3 separate regions of the Homo sapiens genome follow, and regions 1 and 2 are each linked to region 3. Evidence: promoter capture Hi-C in human tissues and cell types (Jung and others, 2019). All regions are on one chromosome and are shown on one strand. The core of a region is centred on a gene start or on the middle of the fragment in contact, and the rest is flanking DNA. Distances in the headings are between cores, read along the strand shown. Region 1 holds the start of HTR3D (5-hydroxytryptamine receptor 3D). Region 2 overlaps HTR3C (5-hydroxytryptamine receptor 3C). Region 3 holds the start of EIF2B5 (eukaryotic translation initiation factor 2B subunit epsilon).

Region 1 (3,778 bases), core at 720-3,219, 100 kb after region 3:
TCCTGACCTCACGTGATCTACCCGCCTCAGCCTCCCAAAGTGCTGAGATTACAGGCATGAGCCACCTCGCCCAGCTTCTGTTTGTTTTTTAATACTAGCCATCCTAGTGGGTGTGAGATATCTTACTGTAGCTTTGATCTGCATTTTCTTAACTATTAGTAACATTGAACATACACCTTTTCTTGTGCTTATTGGCTGTTTGTATTTCTTCTTTGCAGAAATGTCTATTCAAGTCCTTTGCCCATTTTTGAATTGGGTTGTTTGATTTTTTTGTTGTGAGTAACTAATTTTACAAAATCCAATCAAAGGGCCAGGCACGGTGGCTCATGCCTGTAATCCCAGAACTTTGGGAGACCAAGGCAGGTGGATCACCTGAGGTCAGGAATTTGAGACCAGCCTGGCCAACATGGTGAAACCCTGTCTCTACTAAAAATACAAAAATTAGCTGGGTGGGGCAGCACGTGCCGGAGGCTGAGGCAGGAGAATCGCTTGAAACTGGGAGGCAGAGGTTGCAGTGAGCTGAGATTGCACCACTGCACTCCAGCCTGGGTGACAAGAGCAAGACTCCATCTCAAAAAAAAAAAAAAAAAATCCAGTCAGAGGGTCCACTGCTCACCACTAGACCACTGCAATGTTGGGTGAGGACTTACAACTTCCAGATGGCAGACAAGGTGAAGGAGATGTTGACATGAGTGGCGACACTGTAGTTGGTGACTGGACCAATAGCCTTTCTGTCAAACACTGCTTGAAAGGCTGCAGGGTCCACCCTGTGCTGGCCAAAGCCTGGGCAATTGATAATCAAAGTGTCGCCATTTCCTGTAGTGAGCAGAGACTGAGAGAGGAGGGCCAGGGCTGGGGGGCCTGGAGAGTGTTTCTGCATGGAGAGAAAACAGGGGGCACTGGGAGAAGCATGTGAGCTCCTCCTTCCTGGTCCAGGAAGAGTAGGCTGAGCTGGTAGGCAAATGGTGGAAACTGATGAGGTGAGCTGAGTCAAGGATCCATCCTCAGTGCCATTGTTTTGTCCCCATGCAAAACCTGTCCAGATGTGTATGCAAACTCAACCCCGACCGCCACTTTACAGTGTCCTGCCATGTCCTTAACAATCTCACTGCAACCTCTCCACCTTCTGCCAGTGTCCTTCTCTTGCTTACCTCCAACCTGGAGCCATGTGGGTGATGTCAGTGACAAATTTTGCACTCACAGTTCTCCGCCTCGCTGTATTAATATGGCATAGATGCTAATAAATTAATGATAAGGGGAGTAATCAGATAGGTAGTGTGAGATATATGGGATCTTAAGGAAACAAATCAATTTCAGTTTTTCAATTTGATGAGTATTTACTGTGTCTTTACTATGTGCTGTGATTGTTCTAACATTTAGTAGTCTTCATCACTAGGATTATCTTAAAGAGTTCCCAGGCTGGGCTCAGGGGCTCACGCCTGTAATCCCAACACTTTGGGAGGCCCACGCGGGCAGATCACCTGAGGACAGGCATTCAAGACCAGCCTGGCCAACATGGTGAAACCCCATCTCTACTAAAAATACAAAAATTAGCCAGGCACGGTGGCAGGTGCCTGTAATCCCAGCTACTTGGGAGGCTGAGGCATGAGATCGTTTGAACCTGGGAGGTGAAGGTTGCAATGGGCTGAGATATTGCCACTGCACTCTAGCCTGGGTAACAGAGCGAGACTCCATCTCAAAAAAAAAAAAAAAAAGAAGAGAAAAGAGTTAACTAAATATTAGGATCCTAGGAAGAGGTACAAAGCCATCAGTGTCACGAGCATCATTTTTACCATAACGAACATCCAATCATTGACTATCTCAGAATAAAAAATATTAGCCTGTTTTCTCTGCTTCCCAGGAGTTACATGTCTGCTCAGCTCTTGCTCTTATCTTAAGGTACTTGCAGCAGCAGGTGGAGGATGAAGCCAAGGAGGAATCCTTTCCCATGGAACCAGCCTCTTTCCATCTTCCTCTCTTTGGCACTTCTCTGGGTACTTGATGATGATGTTAACCTTTAAAAAACCTCAGATCACACCTTGAGCCCTACCTTTGAATAATATATATATCAGCTGGCATTAACCGCCTCTCTAACAAGACCCCTTGGTGACAAAAGAATGTCACAGAGGAATAACTCACCCTGTGCTTTAACTGGGCCTGAATCTAGCCTCCAAAAGTAATATGGCAAATCAGTTTGGAGAAGAGGAAGCAAAAATATGTGGTCCCTGGAGCAGTGCTAATGGCTTCCTCATACTTTAAAGTCACTCTGGCGTACAGTGCCTCACCGAGAAGGCATGGATGACTACCACTGCCTCCAGGTGGCACGTGAACTTGTTAGACCCTGCTGTCATCTTTCTTTCTTTTCTTTTCCTTTCTTCTTTCTTTCTTTCTTTTCTCTTTCTTTTTCTTTCTTTCTCTTTCTTTCTCTTTCTCTTTTTCTTTCTTTTTTCTTTCTTTCCTTCTCTCTCTCTCTCTCTCTCTCTCCCTCCCTCCCTCTCTCTCTCTTTCTCCCTCCCTCCCTCCCTTCCTTTTTTTTTTTTGCGACGGAGTCTCCCTCTGTCTCCCAGGCTGGAGTGCAATGGTGCAGTCTTGGCTCACTGCAACCTCCGCCTCCCGGGTTCAATCGATTCTCCTGCCTCAGCCTCCCAAGTAGCTGTGATTACAGGCGCCTGCCACCATGCCTGGCTAAGTTTTTGTATTTTTAGTAGAGACGAGGTTTTACCATGTTGGTTGGCTGGCCTCAAACTCCTGACCTCAGGTGATCTGCCCACCTTGGCTCCCAAAGTGCTGGAATTACAAGCGTGAGCTACCATGCCCGGCCCCCTACTGCCATCTTTCAAAAAAGAAAGCGTGTTGGGGGGAGGGGGGTCCCTATTAATATAAGCAACTTCATACACTGAGGTTTTAAACATGACTTCAGTATAGTTAAGACTTTAAAGTATGAGGAAGCCATTAGCACTGCTCCAGTGATGACATATTTCTGCTTCCTCTTCTCAAAGCTGATTTGCTATGCCTTTTTAGTGTTTCAAAAGCAATCTGGACCCAGGTCTACCCAATGAAGGGAGTGATTAGTGGAGTAGGGGGTGGTGGCAGAGGTAATACTTTTTTAAAATAAAAGCTGACTTATGATTTTTTTTTTTAAATGGAGTTTCTCTCTTGCTGCCCAGGCTGGAGTGCAATGGCGCGATCTTGGCCCACCACAACCTCTGCCTCCCGGGTTCAAGCGATTATCCTGCCTCAGCCTCCCGAGTAGCTGGAATTACAGGCATGCACCACAAAGCCCAGATAATTTTTTTTTCATTTTTTTATTATACTTTAAGTTCTAGGGTACATGTGCACAACGTGCAGGTTTGTTACATATGTATACATGTGCCATGTTGGTGTGCTGCACCCATTAACTCGTCATTTACATTAGGTATATCTCCTATTGCTATCCCTCCCCGCTCCCCCCACCCCATGACAGGCCCCAGTGTGTAATGTTCCCCACCCTGTGTCCAAGTGTTCTCATTGTTCAATTCCCACCTATGAGTGGGAACATGCAGTGTTTGGTTTTCTGTCCTCGCTCGTTTTCTCAGAATGATGGTTTCCAGCTTCATCCATGTCCCTACAAAGGACATGAACTCATCCTTTTTTATGGCTGCATAGTATTCCATGATATATATGTGCCACATTTTCTTAATCCAGTCTATCATTGATGGACATTTGGGTTAGTTCCAAGTCTTTGCTATTGTGAATAATGCTGCAATAAACATACATGTGCATGTGTCTTTATAGCAGC
Region 2 (3,759 bases), core at 1,035-3,534, 74 kb after region 3:
GAGAGGTATCAGAAACCAGAACCACTCCCTCCCAAACTGTGAAACACCTGTAACGTTCCTGCTGACCTATGTTGGCTAGTAGTAGTTTAATATATTTTGCTTCATTGTCAGGTCATGTTTTACCCCACAAATCGCACTTCCACCTGAACATATCAGCAGAATGTTCTTTTGCAAAGGGCATTGTCAAACAAAAGTCTTAGCACAGAAAACCTAAAGTTGCATATGTATGAAAAAATCGCAAGATGACATCTAGAGAAATATAAACATGGAAATGGGGAAGGAAAAAGAAATGATACAAAACTGATCTTAAGAAATTTGAAATTCCTCAAAGGCTTAACAGATATTCTTCATTTTAAGTTATTGGGAAAAACCAATTGAGTTTCTGAGTGGGAGATATGTTCCAAGTAATGGAAAGGAGAAGGAAACAAGAGAATCTGATATCAGAACTGCCTTTGCCAGGATATAAGTAACATCTCCAAGAACTCAGAGATAGTTGACACATGAAGATGTGTTGCTAATTGTCCACATTCCATAAAGAAAAGAAAAGAAAATATATTGGGAAGGGATTTACAGCTAGAGCTAGTAAAATGTGGATTTTGGCTGGCTGGCATTCATTCACACATTTACTCATTCAACAATGCCGTATTCATTTCTCAAAAGAAGAAATATGCATGGCCAAGAAGCATATGAGAAAAAGCCCAATATCATTAATCATTAGGGAAATGCAAATCCAAACCACAATGATATACCATCTCACACCCGTCAGATTGGCTGTTATTTAAAAGTTGAAAAAATAACAGATGCTGGAGAGGTTGTGGAGGAAAGAGAACATGTATATGCTGCTGATGGGAATGTAAATTAGTTCAGCCACTGTGGAAAGCAGTGTGGAGATTTCTCAAAGAACTTAAAATAGAGCTACCATTTGACCCAGCAATTCTATTATAGATTATATACTCAAATGAATGTAAACCATTCTACCATAAAGACACATGCAAATGTATGTTCATTTTAGGACTATTCACAATAGCAGACATGGAATCAACCTAGAAGCACATCAGTGGTGGACTGGATAAAGAAAATATGGTTCATATGCACATGGAATACTACACAGCCATAAAAAAGGAGATAATGGCCTTTGCAGAAACATGGTTGGAGCTGGAGGCCTTATCTTAAGACAATTAACATAGGAACAGAAAACCTAGTACTGCTAGGTGCAGTGGCTCAGGCCTGTAATCCCAACACTTTGGGAGGCTGAGGCAGGTGGATCACTTGAGGTCAGGAGTTTGAGACCAGCCTGACCAACATGGAGAAACCACATCTCTACTAAAAATACAAAATTAGCTGGGCGTGGTGGCACATGCCTGTAATCCCAGCTACTTGGGAGGCTGAGGCAGGAGAATAGCTTGAGCCTGGGAGGCGAAATTTGCCATGAGCCAAGATCGCACCATTGCACCCCAGCCTGGGCAACAAGAGCAAAACTCCATCTCAACAACAACAAAAAAAACCCTAACCTGTCGGGTATTAAGCTGATTACCTGGATGACAATATTATCTGTACACCAAACCCCTGCGATATGTAATTTACCCAGGTAACAAACCTGCACATGTACCCCTTGAACCTAAAAGTTGGAAAGAAAAAAAACAAAAAAAAACCCCCAAGTCTGTGTTAAGTATCCACGATGTGCCAGATGTGGTACCATGTGCTAAACTATAAAAATGGATGAGACGTTGACCCTGATCTTTATGAAAGCATACTCTTAGGGGAGGCAGAAGGGCCAACAAATAAATCCCTGAAATGTGTTTATCCAATTGAAATATCATCCAGAAATTTGTCGCTGGTGTTTTTTGACTTTCTCTTTCAATTTCTGTTTCTCCTCAGGGTCTTTCTTGCAGCTAGCTATTAGAATTCTCCCATGATTATAGCTGTTGATGAAGGTGTGAACTACTATATTATTATTATTATTTTTGAGACAGAGTCTTGCTCTATCACCCAGGCTGGAGTGCAGTGGCACAATCTCGGCTCACTGCAACTTCTGCCTCCCAGGTTCAATCAATTCTTCTGCCTCGGCCTCCCGAGTAGCTGGGACTACGGGTGCACACCACCATGCCCAGCTAGCTTTTGTATTTTTAGTAGAGATGGGGTTTCACCATATTGGCCAGGCTGGTCTCGAACTCCTGACCTTGCAATCCATCCACCTTGGGCTCCCAAAGTGCTAAGATTACAGGTGTGAGCTACCGAGCCCTGCTGTGAACTACTATTAACAGGGAACTTAAAAAACCTTTCTTCGTTTCATTTTATTTTTAAGAGACTGGTTCTTGCTCTGTTGCCCAAGCTGGATTGCAAGGGTGCGATCGTGGCTCCCTGTAACTTTGAACTGGGTTCAAGCGATCCTCCTACCTTAGTCCCTCGAGTAGCTAGGACTACAGGCATGTACCACTGCACCTGGCTAATTTTTAATTAATTAATTAGTTAATTATTATTTTTGTAGAGACAAGGTCTCGCTTTGTTGCCCAGGCTGGTCTCAAACTCCTAGCCTCTCTCCTCGGCCTCCCAAAGTGCTGGGATTACAGGCATGAACCCCCCAGCCTCAAGCACACATATTTAGAAAGCCCGCTCTGTTTGATGTTGTGAAGTAAGAGAAACCTGTTAGAATAAAAAAGAATGACACAAGATATGATTTATTTCAAAGAGCAATTTCAGGAATGAGAGGTAAAGGAAAGTGAAAAAGAAATGGTTGCTGAAAGGAACATTTTGCATTTGTAAATATTTTATTGCAAATGAAATAATTTCTTGCAAATAAGACTTGGCCTTCTTATTCTTATAAAACTCTGAAAGTATCTAAAACCCTTAAAATCACATCAGATTACACCTGCTTAGGGGGAAGTATCAAAGCTTCTGCAAGAGGACTCTCCACCGCAGAGTTTGTAGACTTATAATAAATATAATGAAGAGGGCTGGGCGAGGTGGCTCACGCTTGTAATCCCAACACTTTGGGAGGCCGAGGTGGGCGGAACACTTAAGGTCAGGAGTTCCAGACCAGCCTGGCCAACATGGCAAAACCCTGTCTCTACTAAAAATACAAAAATTACCTGGGTGTGGTGGTGTGCACCTGTAATCCCAGCTACTTGGGAAGCTGAGGCATGAGAATCATGCCTGGGAGGCGGAGGTTGCAGTGAGCTGAGATGGCATCATTTGCACTCTAGTGTGGGTGACAGAGTGAGACTCTGTCTCAATAAACAAACAAACAAACAAACAAACAAACAAACTGAAGAGCCAGTGCTTCCTGGAAAGTTGTTTATTGGGGTGATCAATCAAGGAGAGACTCCACTGACCTGGACTTCCATTGATCAGGGAGTGAGGAGTTAGGTGGTAGCTCAGGGAGACTGAGGGTGAGCAGGAATGAGCAGCCTGAGCAGCGGTCGGGAAATCGTCCAGGGCTGTCCCGAACCTGCTTGCTAGTGCTGCGTTGGAGTCTTTGGAATTTAGAAGGGGACATGGTAGTCACTGGGGATAAGTGGCTAAGATTAGGAAAATGAGTCCGGCTGGCCCAAGACCAGCAGAAACTCCAAGCTGTTGTTTGCCAGAGAGGGGGGATGTCTGCCTAGGTGTTCCAGAGGACAATGACAGTAAGGATGGAGGAGGCCATGAAGAGCAGGTAGAGGCGGAAGAGCAGGGTGTCCATCGCGTGGCTGAACTGCACCCACAGCTCCATTAGCTGGGTCTTTGTCCATCCTGAGCCCCCATCTGGCTCGGTCTCTC
Region 3 (3,551 bases), core at 697-3,196:
ACGTCAGCTTTCCCCTTCTGCAATCCATATAACATTTAGGAACTGTCTGATGGAGACCATGCTAATGTCCTAGTCTTTACATCCTGGACTTCCATAAGCAATGCGATTCCCTAGTTTTCAAGATTTCAACAAACATGTAAGTGCTCACTATATGCTTGGGACTGAGCTAGGCAGTGGGAATACAAAGATGACAAGGAGCTCATTTATATCCTTGAAGGTGAGAACAAACAAGATTTAGAAACTCAGTGGGAAAACAAAGATGTTATCATTGTAACTTCCATACTGAAGCCATTAAATAAAAGCAAAGTCCACTGGCACCAAACTTTATAATGAGATTCAGAAAAAACCCAAGTTTATTCTTTAATCTTTGTCACAGAAAACCCAAGACAGACAGATACAAAGTTTCAGCTGCTCACCTCCTGATAAGTGTAGAAAATACCCTTAGAACTTACAATGACATCTAAGTAGACACATTTTTCCCCTCTCACATTTCCCCTTAGTTACATTCATCCTGAAAAAACTGGAAAAAGATGGCGAAACATGGAAAGAAAAGTTGCAGGGCCTTACAGTAAATGTTCTTTGATTTGAGCAGCTTTCCAGCAACAAAAGACAAATGTTTCCTGTACACCTGTGGCAGTCAGGAATTCCAGAGTGTAGTCAATTAATGCCACATTGGCCAGGGGCAAGAGGACCTGAAGGATACAAGATGAAAAAAAACTTGAGGTCTCGAATCCCTTTGGGTACCCCACTGCAACAATTTTCACTCCTCTATTCGTATTTCCAAACAGTGTAATTTTGCTGTATCTTTCCAATTCAAAGATAAACAGGTTCCTGCCTTTGATGTTCATGCCATGCTCTAAGCCTGAGTCTGAGACATTGCAATTTGGGGATGGTAAGTACAGAATCTATGTGCCTTGTATCAGACACAGAGCTGTGACAGAATGGCAGTTCACTGCTGGCAAAGGATAATACTGGAAATCAATCATATTTCCATAAATTTAAGCATTGCTAAGGCCTTCTTCCCCATAAGATTTCCTTCCTTGATCCCTTTCTAAGTGTCAGAGGTTAGCCATCTCCCGTCACTTGTCAAAAATGAACAGCCATTAGGCTTTTTCGAGGGAATTAGAGAGGATTTTCCTTAAATCCAATGCAGTTCCCTCTTTCTGAACTGACTGCTGAACGACCCAGCTGAGTCCAATACCCCATTGTCTAGACAACTCGGGGGCTGATGGCAATCAACCACTAAACCCATTTTGTCCTTTCGACAGATAGCACCGGCTATCATTAGAACCTGGAAGGAAAAAAAAAATACACTGCCTGAGATCTAGCCCGCTCTTTTTAAGGCATATTACCGCCCTTTCAGAGGCAAAAGGTCGTTTCTTTTCACCTAAGCAACCGTCATCGGCAAGGTTAAAAGCGGCGCAGCCTCTTCTAGGGGCACTGAATCCCCGCGTGAAGGCTTCTCTCAAGCGCTGTTTCTACATTTAGCTCTCTTCATTCCTTTCAAACCCGAGGTGGACAGCATTACGAATGCCCAAATCTGCCGGCCACTAACTTGGTCAGCAGTCATCAGGGTTTAGACAGTCCCTCTGCATCCGGTTTTAGGATAACAGCATAGACGCAGGTCCTTCAAGGGCATGCTGTTGTAGTTAGCCGAAATGAGAACTTGCTCCAGCCCTGCCACCCTTCCTGCCCTCTGGCTGCTCGCGTGCGCGGCGCTCACCCGAGGCTGGTCCTTGGAGATGGGGAAGAAGCGGCGATCGAAGCTATCGGCCACCAGAACTGCTTGTAGGGGCGGCGGCGGTTCCTCCTCCGCCCCTCTGGCTCCCCCGCCACCGCTGCCTCCCGGCCCCGCGCCGCTGCGCTTGTTAGCCCGACTAACCACCACACCAGGCGGCGCCACTACAGGGGCCGCCATCTTCTTCTCTCACGGTCACCACTTCCGCAAGGAAGCTGCCACCGCACGCAGTAGGGGACAAAAAGGATCCAGCACTTGAAATGCGATGGACTAATTAACGAAGGGAAGGAGACGAGGAGGGAGCAGTGCGCATGCGTCTTCCCCGGGAGCCCACAGGGGTCTGAGGTTGATCCCGGAGGCGCGAGGAGTCGGTACGGGTCACGGTTGTCCCGGCCCCTGAGGCGCAGGGTAGGAGTGGGGTCCCATAGATGTCAGACTCGGTCTGCAAGTATCGTCGGCCTTCATTTGTAGGTGAACAAGCCGAGATTCTTGTGGCGTGATAGGACTTGTGGTCGCCACGAAGGGGCCAGCTCCATCGGGAATCTGTAATCGCCCAGCAGTTTCCCCGCCCCGCGCATGTGAAATATGTAGCCCTCCGTATTCATTCTAGAAACTTCTGGGAACCCAGCGCCTTGGGGAGATAGAACCGAGCCAGATGTTCCCCCGCTGCGAGGAACTCAGAACCTGCATAAATAGAGAAGGTGGCAGGCATATAGTAGGGAGACCAGTAATTCCATTGAGCGCTGATTTTGGGCCAGGCACGATACAAGCATTATCTCTGCAAAACATCTTATTCATTCGTTCAGCAAACGTTTCTTGAACTCTCAGAAGGATGAAGGAAGTTTACCCAGCTAGTAAGTGGAAGAACTGGTATTGGAACCCGATCTGTCTGACTGCAGAGTTCCACAATCTTGCTGCCAAGTTATGTGGGGATAACAATGACTATTTTATGTCATCTATTCATTCTTCCAGCCTATCAGCCTCCTGTGTCTTAAGCAGAGTGGAGACGGGGGTGGATCCAGGCGCACCAGTAAGTTGTACTGGAGTTAAGCAGTAAGCTTTCTGGGCAGAGGAAAGTGCGGGCGTAAAGGTCCAAGGCTTGAAAAGGCGCAGCAGCACCTTTTTCTCTTTGGGGAAAGAAGCGGTGGCTGCGGGGAATAAACCAACTCTGTAGAGGGGCGGGGCCGTGGGAAAGCGGTGGAACGGGGCAGGAAGGCTGGGCGTCATTTGGGAGGCAAGGAACTTTTCTGTAAGGCATAGCGCCCTTTCTGCACGGGACCTGTCCAGGTTCCACGCCACAGGCTTCTGCAGTTCCTGCAAACTGTTCCCATCCCGCCCCGCGTTGCACGTCGGGATTTGGAGTTCGCGATGCTGAGAGCTGTTTCCACGTGGCGATTCCGACTTGACCCGTCGTGCTCCGGCGCCCGCCTAGGGGGACCGAGGAGTTTGTCATTTCTTGCCTCGTTAGGGTGCGGAACGAAAACCATTTGATTTATCCTAGAAAAGGAAAGGCTGAAGCCAACTAAGTAAAAGTTTTCCATTAAATGAATGCACGTTGTAGAAAAGGAATGTTCAACTGCCCTACAAATCCAGAGGTAGAAATGGGGGAGGGGAGAAGGAATTAAATAGGACACACACACACACACACAAACACACACACACACACACTCTTGGGGGGGTGTTTGGGTATGGAAAGTAGGTCCGATTGCAGAATTTATTTTAAATGATTCCCGCAACCTTGGGAAGTTGGGAAGTGGTGAATCCGCTGCCGAAAGGCATTTGTGCTTATGGTAAATCCAGGTCTTAAAATTCT

Evidence for each region. Contacts are between HindIII fragments. The study calls those that stand out against the background at their distance.
Region 1: a contact is called between the fragment with the promoter of HTR3D here and the fragment with the promoter of EIF2B5 in region 3, in 2 of the 25 tissues and cell types used here (IMR-90 fibroblasts and neural progenitor cells).
Region 2: a fragment that was not itself captured here is called in contact with the fragment with the promoter of EIF2B5 in region 3 in 5 of the 25 tissues and cell types used here (H1 embryonic stem cells, IMR-90 fibroblasts, bladder and 2 more).

Annotation. Positions count from the first base shown.
Region 1 is chr3:184,029,933-184,033,710 of GRCh38, reverse strand. HTR3D (5-hydroxytryptamine receptor 3D) reads right to left here and starts at 1,969. Exons shown (of 8, transcript NM_001145143.1): 1 at 1,904-1,969. The coding sequence starts at 1,969. The HindIII fragment of the contact is 22,402 bases long and covers 1-3,778 here.
Region 2 is chr3:184,060,195-184,063,953 of GRCh38, reverse strand. HTR3C (5-hydroxytryptamine receptor 3C) reads right to left here. Exons shown (of 9, transcript NM_130770.3): 9 at 3,281-3,759. The coding sequence ends at 3,602. Among named protein-coding and RNA genes, the nearest start is that of HTR3C, 9.0 kb to the right of the region's middle. The HindIII fragment of the contact is 8,084 bases long and covers 1-3,759 here.
Region 3 is chr3:184,133,753-184,137,303 of GRCh38, reverse strand. EIF2B5 (eukaryotic translation initiation factor 2B subunit epsilon) reads right to left here and starts at 1,946. Exons shown (of 16, transcript NM_003907.3): 1 at 1,724-1,946; 2 at 568-692. The coding sequence starts at 1,918. It overlaps EIF2B5-DT (EIF2B5 divergent transcript), which reads left to right and starts at 2,043. Exons shown (of 2, transcript NR_183721.1): 1 at 2,043-2,768; 2 at 3,026-3,551. RefSeq lists enhancers at 1,597-1,666, 1,987-2,046, 2,916-3,551 and a silencer at 1,737-1,846. The HindIII fragment of the contact is 14,690 bases long and covers 1-3,551 here.